Regions from separate parts of the Homo sapiens genome. Here all the other regions are linked to region 1. The links are contacts of gene promoters, found by promoter capture Hi-C in blood cells and fetal thymus (Javierre and others, 2016). All regions are on one chromosome and are shown on one strand. Each heading gives the region's core, a stretch centred on a gene start or on the middle of the fragment in contact. The rest is flanking DNA. Distances are from core to core; before and after follow the strand shown.

What was found. Contacts are between HindIII fragments. The CHiCAGO score rates a contact against its expected background, and 5 or more counts as called.
Region 2: a contact is called between a fragment that was not itself captured here and the fragment with the promoter of MAD1L1 in region 1, in 1 of 17 cell types (M0 macrophages). The highest score is 5.0, in M0 macrophages.
Region 3: a contact is called between the fragment with the promoter of MAFK here and the fragment with the promoter of MAD1L1 in region 1, in 1 of 17 cell types (M2 macrophages). The highest score is 5.1, in M2 macrophages.
Region 4: the fragment with the promoter of TMEM184A here is called in contact with the fragment with the promoter of MAD1L1 in region 1 in 2 of 17 cell types (erythroblasts and monocytes); the score reaches 6.4 in erythroblasts.
Region 5: a contact is called between a fragment that was not itself captured here and the fragment with the promoter of MAD1L1 in region 1, in 12 of 17 cell types (M1 macrophages, M0 macrophages, fetal thymus and 9 more). The highest score is 15.5, in M1 macrophages.
Region 6: a fragment that was not itself captured here is called in contact with the fragment with the promoter of MAD1L1 in region 1 in 2 of 17 cell types (M1 macrophages and M0 macrophages); the score reaches 7.3 in M1 macrophages.
Region 7: a fragment that was not itself captured here is called in contact with the fragment with the promoter of MAD1L1 in region 1 in 2 of 17 cell types (M2 macrophages and M1 macrophages); the score reaches 6.2 in M2 macrophages.

Annotation. Positions count from the first base shown.
Region 1 is chr7:2,231,206-2,234,404 of GRCh38, reverse strand. MAD1L1 (mitotic arrest deficient 1 like 1) reads left to right here and starts at 1,460. Exons shown (of 19, transcript NM_001013836.2): 1 at 1,460-1,533. MRM2 (mitochondrial rRNA methyltransferase 2) reads left to right here. Exons shown (of 3, transcript NM_013393.3): 3 at 1-210. RefSeq lists enhancers at 75-607, 1,342-1,471, 1,257-1,551 and silencers at 1,186-1,564, 1,542-1,961. The HindIII fragment of the contact is 9,650 bases long and covers 1-2,387 here.
Region 2 is chr7:1,496,244-1,499,442 of GRCh38, reverse strand. INTS1 (integrator complex subunit 1) reads left to right here. Exons shown (of 48, transcript NM_001080453.3): 7 at 83-188; 8 at 282-468; 9 at 591-736; 10 at 890-1,031; 11 at 2,129-2,305; 12 at 3,179-3,199. Among named protein-coding and RNA genes, the nearest start is that of INTS1, 6.5 kb to the left of the region's middle. The HindIII fragment of the contact is 9,142 bases long and covers 1-3,199 here.
Region 3 is chr7:1,528,980-1,532,178 of GRCh38, reverse strand. It overlaps MAFK (MAF bZIP transcription factor K), which reads right to left and starts at 1,477. Exons shown (of 3, transcript NM_002360.4): 1 at 1,281-1,477. RefSeq lists silencers at 758-887, 1,378-1,647. The HindIII fragment of the contact is 17,285 bases long and covers 1-3,199 here.
Region 4 is chr7:1,554,520-1,557,718 of GRCh38, reverse strand. TMEM184A (transmembrane protein 184A) reads left to right here and starts at 1,514. Exons shown (of 9, transcript NM_001097620.2): 1 at 1,514-1,605; 2 at 2,235-2,453. The coding sequence starts at 2,235. RefSeq lists silencers at 1,239-1,328, 1,369-1,438, 2,806-2,988 and enhancers at 1,096-1,895, 2,032-2,326, 1,896-2,696. The HindIII fragment of the contact is 30,451 bases long and covers 1-3,199 here.
Region 5 is chr7:1,594,216-1,597,414 of GRCh38, reverse strand. It overlaps LOC105375123 (a long non-coding RNA gene), which reads right to left. Exons shown (of 8, transcript XR_001745048.2): 3 at 511-654. Among named protein-coding and RNA genes, the nearest start is that of PSMG3-AS1, 26 kb to the right of the region's middle. The HindIII fragment of the contact is 5,076 bases long and covers 1-3,199 here.
Region 6 is chr7:1,616,570-1,619,768 of GRCh38, reverse strand. LOC105375303 (a long non-coding RNA gene) reads right to left here and starts at 174. Exons shown (of 2, transcript NR_165252.1): 1 at 1-174. It also overlaps the pseudogene TFAMP1. The HindIII fragment of the contact is 6,488 bases long and covers 1-3,199 here.
Region 7 is chr7:1,635,291-1,638,489 of GRCh38, reverse strand. No RefSeq gene overlaps it. Among named protein-coding and RNA genes, the nearest start is that of ELFN1, 33 kb to the left of the region's middle. The HindIII fragment of the contact is 3,020 bases long and covers 160-3,179 here.

The sequences.
Region 1 (3,199 bases), core at 211-2,710:
TTAGGGAAGACGTATGGTCTGAATTTATCCAGGCAGTGGGTCTGCTTTGGTTTTTGCTGGAAATTTATATCAGTGTCTGGGCTCCCAAGAACATAAATGTAATTGCCAAAGCAAGCAGTGATGTGGTGTGTTTATTTTCTTTTACTCATCTAGGAACTTGACGCAGCTTTATATTTAATAAAATAATAGAGATTGCATTATTTTAAGGTACTTTCATGCTTTGAAGTTTTGTTTTTTTTAAACTGGCTTCCTCAAAGCCATTTCCTGGAGGTGTACTCATCCCTCAAGAAGAGTTTGTTGACTATGATTAAATTCCAAGGACCAGTGGGGGAAGTCTGGAAACCCAGGAATCTCCATCAGGAATCTGGGGCTCTGTCCAGCTCCCCGAAGGAAACTGCGGGTCAGATGTTTTGATTTTTTTTTTTCTTTGAGAAACAGAATCTCACTCTGTCACCCAGGCTGGAGTGCAGTGAAGTGATCTTGGCTCACTGTAAGCTCCACTTCCCGGGTTCACGCCATTCGGCCTCAGCCTCCCGAGTAGCTGGGACTACAGGCGCCCATCACCACGCCCGGCTATTTTTTTTTTTTTTTTTTGTATTTTCAGTAGAGACGGGGTTTCACCGTGTTAGCCAGGATGGTCTCGATCTCCTGACCTCGTGATCCGCCTGCCTCGGCCTCCCAAAGTGCTGGGATTACAGGCGTGAGCCACCGCGCCCGGCCGCCAGATGTTTTGACTTTTCATTTTATTTCTGGTTGCAGTCAGGTTGTTAAGTCCAGGGACTCTTGCCCTACTCCACCTCGTTCTCTTATTCCATTTCATTCCCGGGGCACACAACTTGGAAGTCTTTCTCTGAAAGAAGGAAAATTCATTGCAGACCCTTAGGAACAGCATCTTCTTAGAGGGAAGCCAGGGGCTGGGCAGAGACGGGAGGAGGAGAGGAAGAGAATATGGAAACGAGTAAGGCACACTCTTCTCAGGAAGGCTCCAATTTGAAGGATAGACAAAGGTTACCATAATAATGGTGGGGCCTGACCTCACCCCATTGGATGCTGTGCCCTGGCTTGCAGAGCACTGGGAAGGTAGCCTAGTAGCATAAATTGCATTTCTAGTGGGCCCAGAAAAAAGCAAAATAACGGATTGATTCAAGCTGATACTGAGTAGCAAAATTTTGGGAAGAGTCAACGGTGCAAGTTTGTCCGAGGAGGCTGCCGTGGGCGCGGCTATTCCACACATTACGGCGCGAGGCGAAAGCCTTAGTGGAAGCGCGTCCTGCGCAAAGCCGGGGGGCCCCCGACTGCGCCTTGGCTCAGCCTTCGGTTCCGAGTCCTTTCCGTGCGGAGTCTCCCAGGGGTGGCGGCTCCGGGTGCGGACGCGGAGTCCCCAGGATCAGCCGGTGCGCAGACTCGGTTCTTTACGGCCCGATTGCCACGCAGGTCTCGCGAGAGCGCAGGCGCAAGTGTCGCGATAAATGGGCGCCGGCGGAGCGGAGGGAGATCCGAGCGGCGGCGGCAAGCTGGCTGCGAGCGGCTGAGGTAAGCGGCCCGGCTCGCGCGGGCGGCGGGGTCCCGGGGTCCCGGGGGTCCCGGGAATGGCAAGGGAGGGGCCGAGGGCCCGGACCGGGTGTGCTCGCCAGGGTGGGGCACAACGACCCAGACCCCGTGCCTCAGGACCCCGCGCCCGCCCCGTCTCCCATGGGCGCGCTCTCCTCTCTGTGCTCTCCCCTCCTCTCCCCACTCCCCTGTCCCCACTCCCCCTTTGGGCTGTGCTGGGGACAGCGGGCCCCTCGCCTGGGTCTCCGCAGCCGTCCCTTGTGCCAGGGCGGGCGGCCGAGGGGCGCGTGCTCGTGGTCCCAGCCCCGGGGTCCCGCTGCCTACCGTGTGGGTCCCCGGGCTAGGGTGCCGGCGCGCCGAGGAAGGGGCCTGAGCTGGCGCCTGGTGGAGAAGTCGGGGCTGCAGGGGCTCTTGGCATCCTGGTGGCTCGCGCCGGTCCGCTCTCAGGAAGGGGGCGTGTGGGCCCGGTTTCCCCTCGGGGATGGCAAGGGCCACCCTGATCTCGTTTGGGCAATGGAGGAATTGGGCTGTGGAGCCTCCTTCCAGGCGGGCCTGCCTCTGCGGGGCTGGCAGCCTGGGGAGCTCAGGCCTCTGCTTGCACCAGGCCAAGGTTCTTGTTAAATGGAAACTCAGAAACTGTGCAGCTGCAGAAGTTCTACCTTTGGCTTTTAAACGCGCTTGGCTGTTCCCTAGTTGTGGCTGGTGGGCCGGCCTGCCATGAGCCCATAGTAAGCGCCGGTGTTGGGGGTGCAAAGTTCTTTACTGCGGTTTGTCTTCAGCCTTCCAAAGCCAGACAGACCCAAGTTCCAATCTCCGTTCTGTAACTTTTTGAAGCTTCGGTTTCATCATCTCTAGAATCTGTGTAAAAAGACCTAATTCACCACCCTGTTGAGACTGAGCTTACAAATATAGTGCTGGTCAACCTGCAGCCGTATTCCCATCATCTAGCGGTGGAAGACTTGAGGGATATTGGCCCCGTTCCCCACAACTTTGCAAGTAGATTTCACTGTCATGAGTTTACAGATGAGGAAACTGAAGTTCAAGAAGTCTCGGTGCTCGGAAATGTCAGATACCTTTCTTTCTGATACCTAGTTGAAAATAGTAGTAGTACTTATTAATGTCACTAGAAATAAACAATGAAAATGAGCACAGCTGTGATGATCATCATCTTTACTGTCACTGTTGCATGCCTCGTTTCTGATTCCCAGAGGCCAGATTTTTTTTTTAATTAATTATTATTATTTTTTGAAACGGAGTCTTGCTCTGGCACCCAGGCTGGAATGCAGTGGCGCGATCTCAGTTCACTGCAACCTCCATCTCCTGGGTTCAAGAAAATCTCCTGTCCCAGCCTCCGGAGTAGCTGGGATTACAGGTGCACGCCACCACATCTGGCTTTAGTAGAGATGGGGTTTCACCATGTTGGCCAGGCTGGTCTCGAACTCCTGACCTGTGGTGATCTGCCCATCTTGGCCTCACAAAGTGCTGGGATTACAGGCATGAGCAACAGTGCCTGGCTTATGTTTATTTATTTATTTATTCATTCATTTATTTATTTTGAGACACTGTCTCACCCCGTTACCCAGGCTGGAGTGCAGTGGTGCGGTCTCAGGTCACTGCAACCTCTGCCTCCCAGTTTCAAGCGATTCTT
Region 2 (3,199 bases), core at 367-2,866, 740 kb after region 1:
GTGTCCAAGCCCCAGGGCAGGGGAGGGGTGGGAGGATGGGCGGGTGGGAGGCGCTGCATGGAGCCCTCTCCTTGGTTTGCAGGGAGCAGCCCACACCCCTCCCTCACGGAGGAGGAGGACAGCCAGACGGAGTTGCTGATCGCGGAGGAGAAGCTGAGCCCCGAGCAGGAGGGCCAGCTCATGCCCAGGTAGCTGCGTGCCTGCCCGGTCCCAGTTGGGGGCGGCGGGGGCGGGCGCCTCGGGGCCACCTTCCTCCCTCCTCGCTCCCTCCTCTGGCCTAGGTACGAAGAGCTCGCGGAGAGCGTGGAGGAGTATGTCCTGGACATGCTGCGGGACCAGCTGAACCGGCGCCAGCCCATCGACAACGTCTCCAGGAACCTCCTGCGGCTCCTCACCTCCACCTGCGGCTATAAGGAGGTGCGGCTGCTGGCGGTGCAGAAGCTGGAGATGTGGCTGCAGAACCCCAAGGTGCGGGGGCGCCCCGGGGGGGTGGGCGGGGCAGGGGGTGGGGGCAGGCTCTGTGTGGCCCCACAGCGTGGTCTTCCTGCCGGGGTGGCCGTGAGCCCACTGCTCCCTCCTCGGCCCCGCAGCTGACCCGGCCGGCCCAGGACCTGCTGATGTCCGTCTGCATGAACTGCAACACGCACGGTTCCGAAGACATGGACGTCATCTCACACCTGATCAAGATCCGCCTCAAGCCCAAGGTCCTCCTCAACCACTTCATGCTGTGCATCAGGTGCGTGGCGAGCCGGGGCAGAGCGGGGGTGCGGGTGGAGTGGGGGTGTGGGTGGGGGTGTGGGCGGAGCGGGGGTGCGGGCGGAGTGGGGGCACAGGCGGAGTGGGGGCACAGGCGTAGCGGGGACAGGGTCTGTACCCTCACCTCACCCAGGGAGCTGCTGAGCGCGCACAAGGACAACCTGGGCACCACCATCAAGTTGGTGATCTTCAATGAGCTCTCCAGCGCCCGGAACCCGAACAACATGCAGGTCCTCTATACCGCACTGCAGCACAGCTCAGAGCTGGCGCCCAAGGTAGGCCCAGGGTCCCTGGCCTTGCCCTCCACGCCGGAATATGGGGCTCTGGGCTGGAGGGGCACGTGGCGTCTGGGGAGGCCGGTGGATTGGCAGTGCTTCGTGGGAGAATGCTCCTCGGTCTCGGGAAGGAGCTTTTGAAACTCACGTGGGCATGAGGTTGAGCCGTTTCTAGAGTGGGTGCAGCCACAGCGCCCAGCGTCTTTCTCAGAAACTGACACTCTGTCCATTTAGGAGGGAGCCACATTGAGTCTTAAAAGCCACCCAGGTTTCTGAGCTAAGACCCAGACCTGTTGCCTTCTGTTTTTATTTTTCAAGCTCATTCCTGCCTTTGGATAGTAAGGTAGTTTTTAAAAATTTTGTGGAGACCGGGTCTTATTATGTGGCCCAGGCTGGTCTCAAACTCCTGGGCTCAAGCGATCCTCCTGCCTCAACCTCCCAAAGTGCTGGGATGACAGGCATGAGCCCCTGTGCCTGGCCCAGACCCGCCTCCTGTGCATTGGGTCCCTCGGTTAAGCAGGGGTCCCTGTAGCCCTGGCTGTAGGACCCTTGGATTTCCGTGTCTCCTTTGAAGCGGGCTCGGGAGATGCTCCCATCGCCACCAGCGCATTAGGCCTCCCGGTGGGCTCTATGGAGTGTGAAACACGAGGGAGGCACAGCCGCTCTCAGCTCCGCGTTCAGTCTTCGCGGCCTGGCATTTTGAGACAGGAGTGCGTCCTTTCAGATCCTTTCAGATCTTGGGTGGTGGCCTTTGGTTTCCGTTCAGCCCGTGGCGCACGGGTGGGCTGAGATGGCACACGCGCTTCTATGGCTTTGCCGCCTGGTGTCCCGCACCCCCAGCTTCCGTTAATTAATCCTCCTCATTTCACGAGGACCGACTCCCCACCTGCCGGTTCTCAGAGAGGGGAATCAGATGTGATCCCTGCTCGCCAAGGGCTGGCAGCCAGTAGAGCAAGGAGCCCGCCACCCCGCACCCCACACTGTCTGAGACCCACTGCAGCGCCCTCGGGCGCCATACCTGTTGGTGCTGCGGGAAGGGGCCTGTGACAGGGACAGCACTGTCGGGCAGCCTCCCACGCGGCCTCTCTCTGCCCCAGTTCCTGGCCATGGTGTTCCAGGACCTGCTGACCAACAAGGACGACTACCTGCGGGCCTCGCGGGCCCTGCTGCGGGAGATCATCAAGCAGACCAAGCACGAGATCAACTTCCAGGCCTTCTGCCTGGGGCTCATGCAGGAGCGCAAGGAGCCGCAGTACCTGGAGATGGAGTTCAAGGTGCCAGCCCTCGCCGCTGGGGCGCCTTTCCCTCACTGCGGGTTCCACGCGCCGCCATCCCCCTCGTCCTGGGTCCCATGCACACTCCACCCCTTCGGATGCTCTGGCTGAGCGTGGGTACGGGGATGAGTGAGGCTGTTTGCGGTGACGCGTCCCAGAGGGTAGCATAGGCTCTGTCCTGTGTGAGGACCTATGAGGGGCTGACCAAGCACAGGGGAACTGGCAACCCCTAGGCTGGATGGGATGAATTGCTGCCGGCAGCAAGGGGAGCACGGGAGCAGGGAGGCAGGGTGGGGCTGCGGGCTGCCTGGCTGGGTTGGAGACTTTTCGAGGGCTGTGGAGGGAGCTGGCGCTGGAAGGCACAGTGAGGGTGGATCACAGAGATGCCAGGTCCCTGCAGCCAACTCGCAGCCAGCCTGCCGGGGTGGCCTGTTTTGCGGACGGGGCTTTGTGGATCTCTGTTGACTGAACCTCCCTCCTGTGGCCAGACTAGGACCTTGTGGGCCACCGGCCCTGGTGCCCCTCCTGTCAGGCCCCTCTCCCAACTGGTCCTGGGCTCTCTCTCTGGATCCCTGCTTGTGTGTGTGTATGTGTGCGCATGTGCAAGTGTGTGCGTGCTGCACCCACGTGTTTGTGGAGTGGGGCTCCCGGGTGTCCCTTCTGGATACAGACCCCGTGCCGCGCCCACGTGGGTGTGGAGTGGGGCTCCCGGGTGTCCCTTCTGGATACAGACCCCGTGCCGCGCCCACGTGGGTGTGGAGTGGGGCTCCCGGGTGTCCCTTCTGGATACAGACCCCGTGCCGCGCCCACGTGGGTGTGGAGTGGGGCTCCCGGGTGTCCCTTCTGGATACAGACCCCGTGCTGCACCTGCAGGAGCGCTTCGTGGTGCACATC
Region 3 (3,199 bases), core at 228-2,727, 700 kb after region 1:
GTGACGGTGAAACCTCAGTGCCAGTAAAGAGACCTGGCAGCCCACCCTGGAGAATCAGAGGGGTGGGAAGGGCGCTGCCAGAGCCGAACCACACAGATATCCCCTAGACCACGATGGGGGGCGGTGGGGGGCGTTTTGAGTCTCAGGATCTTCCCAAGGCCAGGCACCTGGCCAGAGATTGGCTGGCTGCCTGTGGGTCACCTGGTGAATGAATGGTGAGTGGATCTAATTTCTGCCTCAGCTACAAGAGCTACTTAAGAAGCAAGAAAACAGCATGCTCAGGGACGCAGGACACCAGGAGAGGGACACGGGAGGCCCCGCGAACACGGACACACACGGTGTGAGCGCGAGAATGCAGTGCAGGGCCACTGCTGTGTCCCAGGCGGACCCAGGTCAAGGGCCAAGGCCAGGCGGGGTCCTGGCTTTCTGGGTTTCTCGGTGGCGCCTGGTCCCACCCCCCAGGATCTAGAGGCTGTGCAGACGCAGACACACACAGTCACGGGCACATACACAGTTTCCTGAACTTGACAGAGGCACAGAAGAACTCACGCAGTGGGAGCGGGAAGAGGCCGGAGCCCCTGCCCCACACGTGAGCAAAGGGACGAGCCTTGGGGCCACTGTCACCTGCCCCCCTCCCGCCTCCCCACGGCCTTCCTTCCAGCAACCCTGGCAGGTGGGCGGCTGAGAGCGACACCAGTCCCAGGATCCCGCCTGTGGGGAGACCCGGTTACCCCCACCCCGTTCCCGGGCACGCGTGACCCCAGCCACTGGGCCAGAGCGCCGCCCGTCACCGGGAGGAAGCGCGGGGGGCAGTCCGGGGCCGCACGCGGAAGCCACGCTGGGGCGGAAGCCGCGGAGAATCCACGCGCCCGCGCCCTCCCCGCACCGCCCGCACGTGGCGCCCGCCCCGCCCCGCCCCCCGCAGGTGTGAAGGCGCGGGCCCGATGCGCGCCGCCGACCCGCGTGGATCCTCGTCCTCCCAGGTCTGGGGTCCGCGCCCTGGGGCCCCCGGCGCGGCAAGCATGGCCCGGGCGGCACGTGCAGGGGAGAGAGCCTCGCGTCCCGGGGAAGCCCCCGGGCCTGCGGGGCGGGGCCCACCTGGGCAGGTGCCCGGGCCGCGCCGCGGGCCGCATGAGGGTCTCGGGCCCCGCGCACCCAACCCCGCCACCCTCGGCCCGCGCCCCCAGGCGGCCGTGACTCAGCGGCCAGGTAGCCCCGGCCCCGCGCCCCGGTCCCCGTCCCCGCCGCGGCCCGGGCCCCGCTGCCCCACCGCCCCTCACCTGGCGTCGCGCGGAGGGCGCGGGCGCGCGGCGGCTCCTCGCGGGCACGCGCTGTCCTCGCGCCGGCGCTCACTGTCGCGCTCCCCTCGGCCGCCGCCGCCGCCTGGCGCTCGGGCTCCGACTTCGCGAAGAACAACAAGTGCCCCCGCGCCGCCCGCCGCCACCGCACCCGCCCGCCCGGCTCCCCAGCATCTGACACCGCTTCCGGGATCCGCGGCGCGCGCGTCACACCGCCCTGCCCCCCGGGCCACGCCCCCTCCCCGCCCCGCGGCCACGCCCCCCGGCCACGCCCTCCTCTCCCGCCCGGGGGGCCGCTGGCCCCGCGCGCACCTGCAATCCCCGCGCTTTGGGAGGCCCTGCGGGAAGATCTCTGGAGGCCGGGAGTTCAAGACCAGCCTGGGCAACATAGCGAAACCTCCCTTCCCCCATTCTCTGTCTCTATAAACATAAAAAACATTAAGGCCAGCTGGGAACGGTGGCTCATGCCTGTAATCCCAGCACTTTGGGAGGCCAAAGCAGGAGGATCGCTTGAGCCCAGGAGTTCCAGACCAGCCTGGACAACACAGTGAGACCCCCATCTCTACAAAAAAATTACAAAAATTAGTCGGGCGTGGTGGTATGTGCCTGCGGCCCCAGATATTCAGGAGGCTGAGGCAGGAGGATGGCTTGAACCTGGAAGGTGGAGGCTGCCATGATTTCATCACTGCACTCTAGCCTGGGTGACAAGGTGAGACCCTGTCTCAAAAAAACAAAACAAGCAAACCAGCAATGTAAAAATGGGGATAAGCGGCTAGTGATCACAGCCTCTGTGGGTGGGGCCAGCCCCCTTCTAAAGCCCCAGCTGGTGGTTGCCAGGGGACACAGCAGGCCCAGGATGGGGTTAGGGCACCACTGGCCCAAGGAGTCCTGTGAGGGATCCTCAGGTGGGGGCGGGCCCCTGAGGGAGCTGCCTCTGCTTCCTGTCACAGGTGGAGGACAGGCTGGAGAGGGGATCCGTCTGGAGCCCCTTGCCACGCTTCTGGGTCCCCAAGTCCCGCCCCCCTCTGAGCGCTGCAGGAAGAGGAGTTTCAGGCCTGGGCAACCGAGGGCCCCCCAGGACACCCATGGCATCTGCCCGGGGTTCTGGGAAGCCTGTTTTCTCAGCTCAGGTGGGACCCGGGAGCCTGTTTTCTCGGCTCAGGTGGGACTCAGGAGCCAGTGCAGGGAGGTCTGTGCATCTTCTGGGTGTCGTCCTTACCACCATGTGGCTGGGGATTTAGGCAGCAGCCCAGTGGCCTCTTGCTGTGGAGCGCGGGGGCAGCCTCCCGGGCCATCTCTCCCCCCCACTTGCGGGTTCTGCACTGGCCACCTGGGAGGCCCCTCCTTGCTAAGGCCCACACGGCCGTCTGGGGCAGCTAGCCACAGTGATGCCTGCAACCTGGCCGCAGAAACAGGTGCCAAGAAATAACTCAACAGCAGCAGTAGCGACAATGTCCCACGTCCCCAGGATGTTTGCAGAAAGACATCCCCCGGGGATGGGAAAGGTGCTTCCCTTGTCCTGGCCCACACTCTGCACTCGGGGTCCTGGGATGCGCTGGGAGCCTCCAGAGAAGCTGTGGCCATCTCCGCGGGACTCTTTACGTTACTCATGGTGTCGCTCCTCTAACCCAAATGCATTCTTTCCATAGCAGGCTTTTGTTACTAATCACACACTTTTATTATCTCTTTAATTTTTTAATTTGTATTTATTTATTTCTGAGATGGAGTCTCACTCTGTCGTCCAGGCTGGAGTGCAGTGGCACCATCTCGGCTCACTGCAGCCTCCGCCTCCCAGGTTCAAGTGATTCTCCTGCCTCAGCCCCCTCGAGTAGCTGGGATCACAGGTGCCCACCACCACGTCTGGTTAAATTTTGTTTTTGTTCTTGTTGCTGTTTTGAGAT
Region 4 (3,199 bases), core at 265-2,764, 680 kb after region 1:
CTCTAAAAGGGGAACAGGCCGGACGTGGTGGCTCAAACCTGTAATCCCAGCACTTTGGGAGGCTGAGGCGGGCAGATCACCTGAGGTCAGGAGTTCAAGCCCAGCCTGGCCAACGTGGTGAAACCCCGTCTTTACTAAAAATACAAAAATTAGCTAGGTGTGGTGGTGGGCGCCTGTAATCCCAGCTACTCGGGAGGCTGAGGCAGGAGAATCACTTGAACCCAGGAGGCGGAGGTTGCAGTGAGCCGAGATCGCGCCATTGTACTCCAGCCTGGCGACAGAGCGAGGCTCCGTCTCAAAAAATAAATTAATTAAAAATAAAAGGGGAACAGTGGCTCCAGTCATTCCAGCCTCAACCCCTTGAGCCCTGTTGCTCAGGGCTGTGGGAGGGTAGGAGATATGAAGGACAAGGAGTGTGTGGATCCGTTGCGGGCATGGAGCGGGACTTGGTAATGGTGGCCCCAGCGGCATGAGCCCAAGCGTAACCAGAACAGGACAAGAGGTGGGCTGAGGGCCCACATCCCTCTCCCAGGAGCCGGGGTGAGTGAGTTTTTTCTCCACAGGGGCCTCTGCATGGGGGTGACAGGGACCCTCAGGGCCCCGCAACCCCTTGCCAGACCCCAAAGGGTCCAGGGACTGGGCTGTCACTCCCCCTCTCCTGCCTTGATCCACAAAAACCAGAAATATTTCCTTTTTTTTTTTTTTTTTTTTTTGGACACAGAGTCTCCCTCTGTCCCCAGGCTGGAGTGCAGTGGTGTGATCTCAGCTTACTGCAACCTCCGCCTTCTGAGTTCAAGCGATTCTCCTGTCTCAGCCTCTTGAGTATCTGGAATTACAGGTGCACGCTGCCACACCTAGCTAATTTTTGCGTATTTCGTAGAGACGGCGTTTCACCATGTTGGCCAGGCTGGTCTCGAACTCCTGACCTCAAGTGATCCACCCACCTTGGCCTCCCAAAGTGTGGGGATGACAGGCGTGAGCCACCACGCCCGGCCCAGAAAACAAATGTTTTCAACTCATCTCTTGGGGCGTGGATTTTTTTTTTAATTCAGATGAAATTCACATAACATCAATTTACCCAGGTTTAAGTGAACGATTCGGTGGCGGTAAGTATATCCACAGTGCTGTGTGCCTGCCGCCTCTACCTCATTTCAGGACTCCTGTCACCCCCCAGAGAAACCCTGTACCATTAGCTCTCCACCCCTCCTCCTGCAGCCCGGCCCTCCTTGGCCTGCCGCAGACCTCTCCCACGTGTCCCCACCAGGTGGCAGCTGCCTGGCCGTCTGGCATAGGCAGGTGAGGGCGCCAGGCGGCCAGCAGGTTCCTGGGAGCCAGCTGCCACCCAGCAAACAACCGGGAGGATAGGGTGTCAGCCGTGGGAGGGGACAGGAGGGGACGGGCCTGCAGCCTGGGGCCCAGGTGGGCCACTGGGGACGTGAGGCACTGGCCGCCCCGCCCCAGCCTGGCACAGCCCTTCAGATCCTGGCCTTGCCGCACCCACAGTGGGGCCTCCAGTTGGGGCCACGTGGCCATGAGAATGACCAGCTAGGCTTCCCTGGAGGCCAGGCCTCCCTGGACTGGGCCAGGTGCTTCCTGCCAGCAAAGGTAGAGCTGGGCCCTGTGACCGCAGACCAGAGGGAGAGGAGGAGGCTGGACTGGGCTGCGAGTGTGGGAGAGGGTGGACTCAGGGCCCCAGCAGGTTAGTGGGAGATGGAACAGGCACCCAGGGCTGCCAAGAACCCCAGCAAAGCCGGGCTCCCAGGTGGGTGGACAGGTCCCAGAGCCAGTGAGGGCCGGCTCCTCCCATGAGGGTGGCTGCACACCCCCTCCTGCCGGGGCAGGCAGTGCTGGTCTGCGCCCGCTCCCCAGCCCTCCCGGGCAGGCAGGGCGGCAGGGGTTCCCCCTCTTCTGCCCCACTGGAAGACGGTCTTTGTCCCCTAAGAAGCAGGCTCCCTGCAAGCCTGAGACTCGGAGTTGGAAGCTGGTTTTACAAGGGGGAATTGAGGTGGGACCCTCAGGTCGCAGGTGGTTGATGGGTGAGCTTCGATGGCTGAGCTCGGAGCAGGGAGGGAGCCGGGCCTGGCGCTGGTGTCCGTGTGGGGGGTGCGGCCTGGTGGGTGGCTCAGCCTCAGCTCCCGTCTCACTGTCTCCTCCCTCCCCCGCTGCTTCCTGCTGCCGGGAGCCAGTACCTTTGCCCTCACTCCTCCCGGTGTGTGTCCTCCCTCCCTCTGCAGATGAGTAATGTCTCAGGGATCCTGGAGACAGCCGGCGTCCCCCTGGTGTCAGCGAACTGGCCGCAGCCCAGCCCCCCACCGGCTGTGCCAGCTGGGCCGCAGATGGACCACATGGGGAACAGCTCCCAGGGGGCCCCCTGGCTCTTCCTCACCTCCGCACTGGCCCGAGGCGTCTCGGGGATCTTCGTGTGGACTGCCCTGGTGCTCACCTGCCACCAGGTAAGCCCTTCCGCCCCCGAGCCTCCTTCAGGACCTTGGTCTCCACAGGACGTGGCCGTGGCTCAGCCCGGTCCCCCTGGGTGCCGCTGCTATAGACGCTGTCAGAAGTGGGATCGGCCAGGGCACGGGGGAGGGGATGAGCTTCCCCAGGATGTGGCATGTGGGAGCTGGGCCTGAAAATGGGGAGATCTCTGCCAGGCTGAGGGCAGAGCGCCCACCGGGCACCCCTGGCTATTTCACAGGCTCGTCACTCGGCTCACTGAGGTCTGCAGTGTGGTCCCATTTCACAGACAAGAAGACTGAGTCTCAGAGAGACCAGAGGTCTTTCCCAGGCTCACATAGCTGGAAAGGGGAAGGGGCCTTCTCCTTCCAGAGGCGTGACACCCTGGAGAAGGCTGGTGGGAGGTTGGCAGGGGGTTGGACTTTGCTCTGTAGGGAGCTGGGGAGCAAAGGTCACAGCTTGTTAGAGGGACCGGGACTCCTGTGCAGGAGATGGGCGAGAAGCAACTTCCCCAAGCCCGAAGCCACACACAGCCCCCGACCCGGAGCAGTCCCCAGGTGGGAACAGAACAGCCCCCAGGTAGAGAAGCGGCCAGGCGCTGTGGCAAGGAAGGGCCAGGCAGGGGCAAGGAGGAAGTGGTGCCCGAGGGCAGGGGCTGGGCAGAGAGGGCAGGGAGTCAGGGACAGGACCCTCCTGAGAGACTCAGATACACAGAGAGGCCAGGGCGGTGTGCGCAGGGGTGGGG
Region 5 (3,199 bases), core at 412-2,911, 640 kb after region 1:
AATGACAGATGTCCTTGTAAGAACAGAGAAGGACACAGAGACACAGAGGCCATGTGACGAGGGCCGTGGGATGACAGCAACAGAGATTGCAGCGGTGTGTCAGCCATGAGCTGTTGGCAGCTGCCAGAAGCAGGAGAAGGGCCTGGAATAAATTCTCCGCTGCCAGGACCCTCAAGAAGGAACCAGCCCTGCTGACTCCGACTCCTTGGTTCCCTCCTGACCTGTGGGATGGTAACTTTCTGTGGTTTTAAGTCCCACAGTTTGCAATAACTCATCATGGCAGTTGGCAGTTGAAGGAAGCTGCCTCTCTTTCAGTCCCTAAAACATTTGAGTCCTTTTCTGCCTCCGAGCCTTTACATACACTGTTCCCTCCGCCCAGAATGCTTTTCCCTCGACCTCCACCTGCCTGCCTTCTGCTCGGCACTCAAGCCTCAACCGAAACATCACCTCCTCAGATGCTCCTCCTCGAACCACCCGCCCAGGCACGATTGCGCCCCTCCACGTTGGTACCGTCGTGGCGCTGATTGCCGGAAATGGGCTCACGCATTGACTGGTGCGCTCCTCTTCCCATCTGTCCACACCCCCGGATGCGGCCATCAGCTGTCTTGGCCCCCGAGGTGACCCAGCGTGGACACGGCACCTGGCACAGGGTACCTGGTTGGTAAACGAGCATAGAGTCAGTGACTCAAGCAGAAAGACCACGGGGAGAATAATTTGCAGGCCTGGGGGAAGAAAAAGCAGCGTGGACCCTGGGAACCACGTGTTTCGCCTGCGTACACTGTTGCCATTCTCTGCAATGGCAGGAGAGAGGCTATTGGGTTTTAAATCTCCAGGAAGCTGATAAATGCATTTGACTCCCAGCGCCTCATAGGTGGAGTACACCCCCACCCACACACAGCCATTAGAGCCCTGGGGATAGGGCACGGAGCCTGGAACACGTCGGACCCCACTAACGCCAGGCCATCACTCCATCTCCCTAAATATCTGATTTCTGTCATGCGGGGCTGTAAACTGTCCCCACGCACACGGCACCCAAGATTGTATCAGGGGCTGAGTGGCCTCTGCTCCTCCAGGAGCTTGTAGATAAACACGGCTGTTTCTCTCTTGGCTGACACGGGAGGGGAATGTCGCAGCCATGAGGCATTGAGAGGTTAAAATGTTTAATTAATTTTTCCTGACCGGTCTTTGCAGGGCCCCTTTGCAGACGAAAGGCACTGTGGCCCCCAAGGTGTGGCTTCGCTAATGGAGTCAGAATCTGTACAATGGGTTAAAAATGCACAAATAAATCCCCAGCTCCTAAGGGTTGGCCTGGAAAACTAGAGAGATGGCTCCCTGTTGAGTGAGGAGGTGAAATTGAGGAATTGGAATATGATTTGGGGAGAGGGGTTTATCTTGATCTCTGCACCCTCCCTCCCCCGACTTGTTTTCCGGGCTCTATCCTGGAAGGAGCCGGGGGTGTGGGCAGCGGCGGGTGAGGGAAGGGACGAGGGGATCGTGAGGTGAGGGGTGCTCACGATCCCACCCCACCCCATGCCCGTGCCACAGCCAGTCCCAGGACTCTGGTGCACTGGAGGTGCTTGTGAAACAGCTCCAGAATGAACGTTCAGGTCCCTATCTCACCCTCGCCCCTGCCCCACCCTCTCCAGACTTGACATGGGCAGGACTGGCCTCTTCTCCATCCCATGGCCAGCTTGGCCCCTGCTGCAGCCCCAGCCCAAACATCTCTTCATCAGAAACCACCCAGGCCCCCGGATTCCAATTCATCCCAGCTGGTCTCTCCAGATTCTCAGCATTCATGTACACAGAAATACAGGCATGTTCGTTTCTTGTTTTCTTTCTCTTCTACTAAACAGGGAGCTCCGTGGAGGCAGTGGCCTTTCTAGTCCTGTTCACTGCCGTATCTCCAGAGCTGACAGAGCTCCTACAGTCCTAGACAAGCAAGGACTGCTTGGATGAGTGGGAGGGTGGATGGCTGGGAGGATGGATGGAGGGAGGATGGATGTGAGGGTGAATGGATGGGAGGATGGATAGACGGATGGATGGGAGGGTGGATGGGTGGGAGAAGGGATGGGTGGATGGATGGATGGATAGGAGGATGGATGGATAGAAGGGAGGGTGGATAGACGGGAGGATAAATGGATGGATGGATGGATGGATGCATGGATGCATGGATGGATGAATGCATGAGTGGATGGGAGGGATGGATGGGAGGATGAATAGATAGATGGATGGGAGGGTGGATGGATGGGAGGATGGATAGATGGATGGACGGGAAGGTGGATGGATAGGAGGATGGATAGATGGATGGATGGGAAAGTGGATGGATAGGAGGATGGATGGAGGGATGGACAGGAGGATGGATGGAAGGATGGATGGGAGGATGGATAGATGGATGAACGGGAGGGTGGATGGATGGGAGGATGGATGGATGGATGGATGGATGGATGGATGGACGGACGGGAGGATGGATAGATGGATGGACGGGAGGGTGGATGGATGGCAAGATGGATAGATGGATCGATGGGAGGATGGATGGGTGGGAGGGTGGATGGATGGGAGAATGGATGGATGGATGGGAGGATGGATGGGTGGGAGGGTGGATGGATGGGAGAATGGATGGATGGATGGGAGGATGGATGGATAGAAGGGAGGGTGGATAGATAGGAGGATGGATGGATGGATGGATGGATGGATGCATGGATGGATGGGAGGGTGGATGTAGGGAGGATGGATGGATGGATGGATGGAAGAGTGGATGGATGGGAGAATGGATGGATGAATGGGAGGGCGAATGGATGGCAGGGTGGAAGGATGGAAGGATGGATGGATGGATGGATGGATGGATGGATGCATGGATGGATGCATGGATGGATGGGAGGGTGGATGGATGGGAGGGTGGATGGATGGGAGGGTGGATGGATAAATGGATGGATGGATAGATGCATGGATGGATGGATGGATGCATGCATGAATGGATGGGAGGGTGGATGGATGGGAGGGTGGATGGATAAATGGATGGATGGATAGATGCATGGATGGATGGATGCATGCATGGATGGATGGGAGGGTGGATGGATGGGAGGGCGGATGGGAGGATGGATAAATGGGAGAGTGGGTGGATAGGAGGGTGGACGAATGGGAGGATGGATGAATGGGAGGATGGAGGGATAGAAGGGACAGTGGATGGATGGATGCACGG
Region 6 (3,199 bases), core at 183-2,682, 610 kb after region 1:
CTGACGGGAGCTCAGGGGCCGGTCAGGCCCACCCCTCACTCCCCGGTCCAGGCCTGGGGGCGACAGCAACTGCGGGCATTGGAGGAGGCCGTCTGACGCGCAGCCAGACCCCGCCACAGAGAGTGACCCGGAGGCCCAGGGCCCCGCTCGGGCGGGTGAGGGTTCCTGCACGACGCCAGCTTCCGGGGGAAGCGGAAGCTGCTCACACTCACGGCTCCACCCAGGTGGGGCCCTTCAATAACTCGGTTCCGCTAACGTGGTGCCGGCTTCACACACCGGCTCCCCCGCCGCTCAGACGGTTCCAGCTGTCCTTCTCCCCTCCTCGCGTTCTTACCAACGCACTTGGGGCTGGAGAACCCTCGCGCCACCCACACTCACACACACACCTACATGTACATACACCCTACACACACACACCTACACACACCTACACACACCCCGACACACATACACCTACACACAACCCCTACACACACCTACACACCCCTATACACACACACCTACACACACCTACACACACCCCTACACACACCTACACACCCCTATACACACACCGCCACACACCCCTACATAACACACACCCCTACATACACACACACCTACACACACCCCTACACACACATACAGCTACACACACCCCTACACACCCCTACACACCCCTACACACACCCCTACATACACACACACCTACACACACACATACACACACATACACCTACACACACCCCTACACACACCTACACACACTACATAACACACCCCCCCACATACACACACCTACACACACCCCTATACACACACCTACACACACCCCTACATAACACACACCCCTACATACACACACACCTACACCCCCTACATACACACACAACCCTATACACACATACACACATACACCTACACACACCTACGCACACCTATGCACACCTACATGTACACACACCCTACACACCTACACACACCCCTCCACACACCTACACACACACCTACACACACACACCCCTCATAACACACACCCCCTACATACACTCACACCTACACCCCCTACATACACAACCCTACACACACATACCCCTACACACACCTACACACACCTACGCACACCTATGCACACCTACATGTACACACACCCCTACACGCACACACCTACACACATACACCCCTACATACACACACCCCTACACACACCCCTACATACACACACCCCCTACATACACACACACCCCTACACACATACCCCCTACATACACACACACACAGGCACACACACACCTGCAGAGGCACACACACCCCTACATACACACACACACCTATATACACCTACACAGACACACACACACACACCCCTACACACACATACATCTACACAGGCACACACACACACCCTACATACACACCCCTACATACACACACACCTACATACACACCTACACAGACACACACACCCCTACACACACACATCTACACAGGCGCACACACACACCCCTACATACACACATCCCTACATACAAACACACACCCCTACACAGACACACTCCTACACACTGGTCTCCCAGCCTGTGCCTCTCCCCGTGGAGTGCCCCCTCCACCCTGCAGCCGAGGAGCCCCCAGCCCTGTGTGGGACCAAGGCTTCAAAGCCCCCACTGACCCCACCACCCATAAGATCAAAAGCGAAATTCCTCGGTGGGTCAGTTTGCTTGGGCCGCCATAACAAACTCTCACAGACCAGGTGGCTGAAACAACAGACGTTTATTTCCCACGATCCTGGAGGCTGGAAGTCCAACATCAAGGTGTGGGTGGGGCTGGATCCCCTGAGGCCTCCTCCTCAGCTTCCAGACAGCATCTTCTCCCCATGTCCTCACGTGATTGTCCTTCCGTGAGCATCTGTGTCCTAATCTCCTCTTCTTAGAAGGACTCCAGTCAGATTGGATCAGAGCCCACCCTAGTGACCTCATTTTCCCTCCATTATCTCTTTAAAGACCGTGTCTCTGGCCAGACACCGTGGCTCGTGCCTGTAATCCCAGCACTTTGGGAGACTGAGGCAGGAGGATTGCTTGAGGGCAGGAGTTCAAAACCAGCCTGGGCAACATAGTAAGACCCCATCTCTACAAAAGAATTTTTAAAAATTAGCCAGGCATGGTGGTGCATGCCTGTGGTCCCAGCTACTTAGGAGGCTGAGGCAGGAGCATTGCTTGAGCCCAGGAGGTGGAGGCTACAGTGAGTCCTGATAGGGCCATTGCACTCCAGCCTGGGTGACAGGGTGAGACCCTGTCTCCAAAAAATAAAATAAAATAAAATAAAAATAAAAATAAAAATAAAAAGATTCTGTCTCCAAATACAGCCATATTCTGAGGTCCTGGGGGTGAGAACTTTGGCGTATGAATTTGAGGGAGACACAATTTACCCCATGACGCAGGGCATGAGATTGAAAGGCCTTCGCAATCCAGGCACCATCTTCCTTCCCAAAGCCAGATCCCGGGGGCCATGTGGGGTGTCCTGAAAGCGGGAAAGTTTGCCATGGTGGCCCCCAGTGGAGGTCCTGGCATCCTTGTCTCTGGAGGTCAGAAATTCTTAAAGTAAGCGTGGGCTGCCCTCCCTGCCCTGGGCCTCCTGTCCACTTGAAAGCACACACAGGAGTGGGCTTGGTCCAGGCTGGGGGAGGAGGAAGGTGCCCTGGACCAGGAACCCAAACACCAAGGGAGCAGCAATGGGGAAGTGTTCTGTCCTGGCCCCACACGCTGGCAGACCATGCTGGTGCTCCACACGTCATCACTGTCACAGCAACTCTGCAGGGCAGGAGGTGTGACCCCAGTTCACAGATGAGGAAACAGAGGCTCCTCAAGGACGCAGGGCTCACCCGAGGTCACACTCAGGAGGGAAGAGCTGCATGTGGGCCCACAGGTTCGAGTGCCTGTTATGCAGTCACAGTCCAATGCGCGGAGGCAGCAGGGTTTGCAGCAGAGAAAGAGTTTCAGGATCGCTGGGAGCCAAGCAGGGAGATGGGAGGAGACCCTCAAATCCATCTCCCCAAGGAGTTCTGAACTGGGGTGTTTTGGGTTTTTTTTTTTTTTTTGGTTGTGTTCCAATAAACTTTATTTATGAACACTAAATATTCATGTTAATTTTCATGTATCATAAAAGTCTTTAAAAACAAAGCATTTAAAATTATAAACACAATTCCTAGCTCACAGGACACAGA
Region 7 (3,199 bases), core at 420-2,919, 600 kb after region 1:
TCTCTTCTCGGATTAAATTACTCCAGCCCAGCACGGGCTCCCCGGCGGTACTCCCATCACACTTCAATGGTGAGCTTATTAGCTGGGTGGTTCCAGGAGGAGTATTCACTCCCGGTTCTGCCCAATTAATGCTGCCCTAAGCCAGCTAATAGGGAAGCTTGGAGACAGCCGCTCCCATAACTGAGAGGGAGGTTCAGTAGCAGGGTGTTGGCTCTGCTAGTGTGGAGGAAGGAATGGGAACATGCTGTCCACAGGCCAGGGCCTGCCTGCTGGGTCCAGCTTGGACTCTGACCTGGTGACCAAATCCTGCAAATACCCTGCCTCTCTCTTGGCCTCAGTTTCCCCATCTGCAAGCTGAATCCGTTGAGTGGGATGAAAGCAACACAGGAAGGCATAAAAATAATGGCGCAGTTACTTAGTCCTTCCTGCCTGCCATGCTGTGCCACAGAATTGACATCCACCAACTAAATTTATCCTCCCAGCTGGGCATGGGGGCTTATGCTTGTAGTCCCAGCACTTTGGGGGTCTGAGGCGGGAGGATTGCTTGAGCCCAGGAGTTCGAGACCAGCCTGGGCATTTTAGACAGGGTCTTGCTCTGTTGCCCAGACTGGAGGGCAGTGGCGTGACGTCGGCTCACTGCAACCTCCGCCTCCTGAGTTCAAGCGATCCTCCTGCCTCAGCCACCCAAGAGCTGGGACTACACATGTGCACAACCTCACTCAGCACCAAATTTTTGTATTTTTTTATAAAGATGGGGTTTCACCATGTTATTTTCCTAGGCTGGTCTCAAACTTCTGGGCTCAAGTGATCCACCCACCTTGGCCTCCCAAAGTGCTGGGATTACAGGTGTGAGTCACCATGCCTGACCTTCTATTTTCAAATTCAAAAAATTAATTAATAAATCCTCCCAACACTCCAGAGAAGTGGGTACTGTGTTCTAGCCATATGCAAATAGAGCTGCCAGGTATGCTTATATCTGTCTCTGTGTGAACAGATGATTTCATCTCTCTTGGGTGAGTGCCTGGGAGTGGAGTGGCTGCTTCTTATGGTAGGTGCACATTTAACTCTCTAATAATTGCCAAACTTCCCCAGCGTGGCCGCACCATCTTGCATTCTCAGCATCAGCACTCAGCATAGAGTTCCAGGTGCTCCATGTCCTCATCAACACTTGCTGAGGTCAGTCTTCTTCATTTCAGCCACTCTAGTAGGTGTGAAGTGGTATCTCATTGTGGTTTTATTTTTCATTCCTGAATGATTAATAATGTTCAGTCTTTTCATGTGCTTGCATGTCTTTTTTTCCCCACTTAAACTGACTTATTTGAAAACCTGTGTATCTTCTTTACAGAAGTGTCTGTTTAAATATTTGGCTCCATTTTATTTTATTTTATTTTTTTGAGACAGGGTCATCCTCTGTGACCCAAGCTGGAGCACAGTGGTGCAATCACAGCTCACTGCAGTCTGGAACCCCTGGGCTCAAGCAATCCTCCTGCCTCAGCCTCCTAAGCAGCTGGGACTATAGGCACATGCCACCATGCCCAGCTAATTTTTTGTAGAGATAGGGTCTCACTATGTTGGCCAGGCTGGTCTCAATCTCCTGGGCTCAAGTGATCCTCCCACCTCAGCCTCCTAAAGTGCTGGAATTAGGCATGAGCCACCTTGCCTGGCCCTCTTTAACCCATTTTAAAAATTGGTTGTTAGTCTCTCATTATTAAGTTTAAAACATCCTTGTATTTTAAATACAAGTCCTTTGTCAGGTAAATGTTTTCAAATATTTTCTCCCAGTCTGTAGCTTGCATTTTCTTTTTCTTTTTTTTTTTTTTTTTTTTTAGACAGAGTCTCACTCTGTCACCCAGACTGGAGTGCAGTGGCATGATCTCGGCTCACTGCAAGCTCTACCTCCCGGGTTCGCGCCATTCTCCTGCCTCAGCCTCCCGAGTAGCTGGGACTACAGGTGCCCGCCACCACGCCCAGCTAATTTTTCGTATTTTTAGTAGAGATGGGGTTTCACCGTGTTAGCCAGGATGGTCTCGATCTCCTGACCTCATGATCCACCCGCCCCGGCCTCCCAAAGTGCTGGGATTACAGGCATGAGCCACCGTGCCCAGCCGTAGCTTGCATTTTCATGGAGAAAACCTTAGTGACCGTGAGTCTGGCAAACAAACACTCTGAGGGGACACACAGAGACCTGGCCTCCCAGGTGGATGCCTCAGCCTGGGCCCAACCCTCCATATGAACTCTGCTGTGTTTTCAGGCCCTTGGCCTGCTCTGCTTCTCTCTGACCCAGGGCCGACTCACGGACCCTTTCGTTCTTCACTCTGGCCTCATCTCTGGGGCCTGGAGCTGGGCCTCACCTCCAGGGTGACTTCCTGGGCCCCACAAAGTCTGGAAACCCAGGTAAAGGCACAACAAAAGGCACGATGACTCGCAAAGCCCCATCCCAGTCCCTTCAAAGGAAATAAGGGAATATCTCAGGGGTTAGTGAGATAATTCATGTAAAAAATCAGTTGTAAGATAATAAAGTTCTGTGCAAACTCCAAAGTACTTCAAAATCCAGAAAACATTTCATAAACTCGGACAGCCAGCCTCTAAGAGGGCCTCCAATGATGGATCCTCCCCTCCTGGTGTTTATGCCCTTGTATAGTCTCTTCCCATTTTGAATAGGGCAGACCTATGCAATAATAGGATATCCTGGGAGAAACAGTGTGTGGCTTCTGAGACTAGGCCACAAAAACAATGCACTTCTTTCTTGCTCTACGGATTTCTCACACTGGGAAAACCAGTCATCAGGGCACAAGGAAACCTAAGCAGCCTATGGAGAGGGCCACAGGGTGAAGAGCTGAGGCCTCCAGCCAACAGCCCTGTGCAGGTGCCATCTTGGAAGGGAGCCTCCTGCCCCAGTCAAGCCTTCAGATAAATGCAGCCTTGTCTAGCTGCTCCTGACTGCAACCTCATAAGAGTCCTTGGGCCAGAACCACCCAGCTAAGCCACTACCTAATTATTTACCCCAGAAATTATGGGAGATGATACATGTTATTTTAATTTGCTAGATTTTGAGGTAATCTGAGTAATTTGTTGTGCAGCAATAAAAACTAATACCCATTTGCTTTGTGAACCAAAATAAAATAACAATAAATAAACTAAATTTGTAAGTAAGAGAGCACTTTGTCAAACTTAAAGCTTTTCTTAAACCATTGCCAGA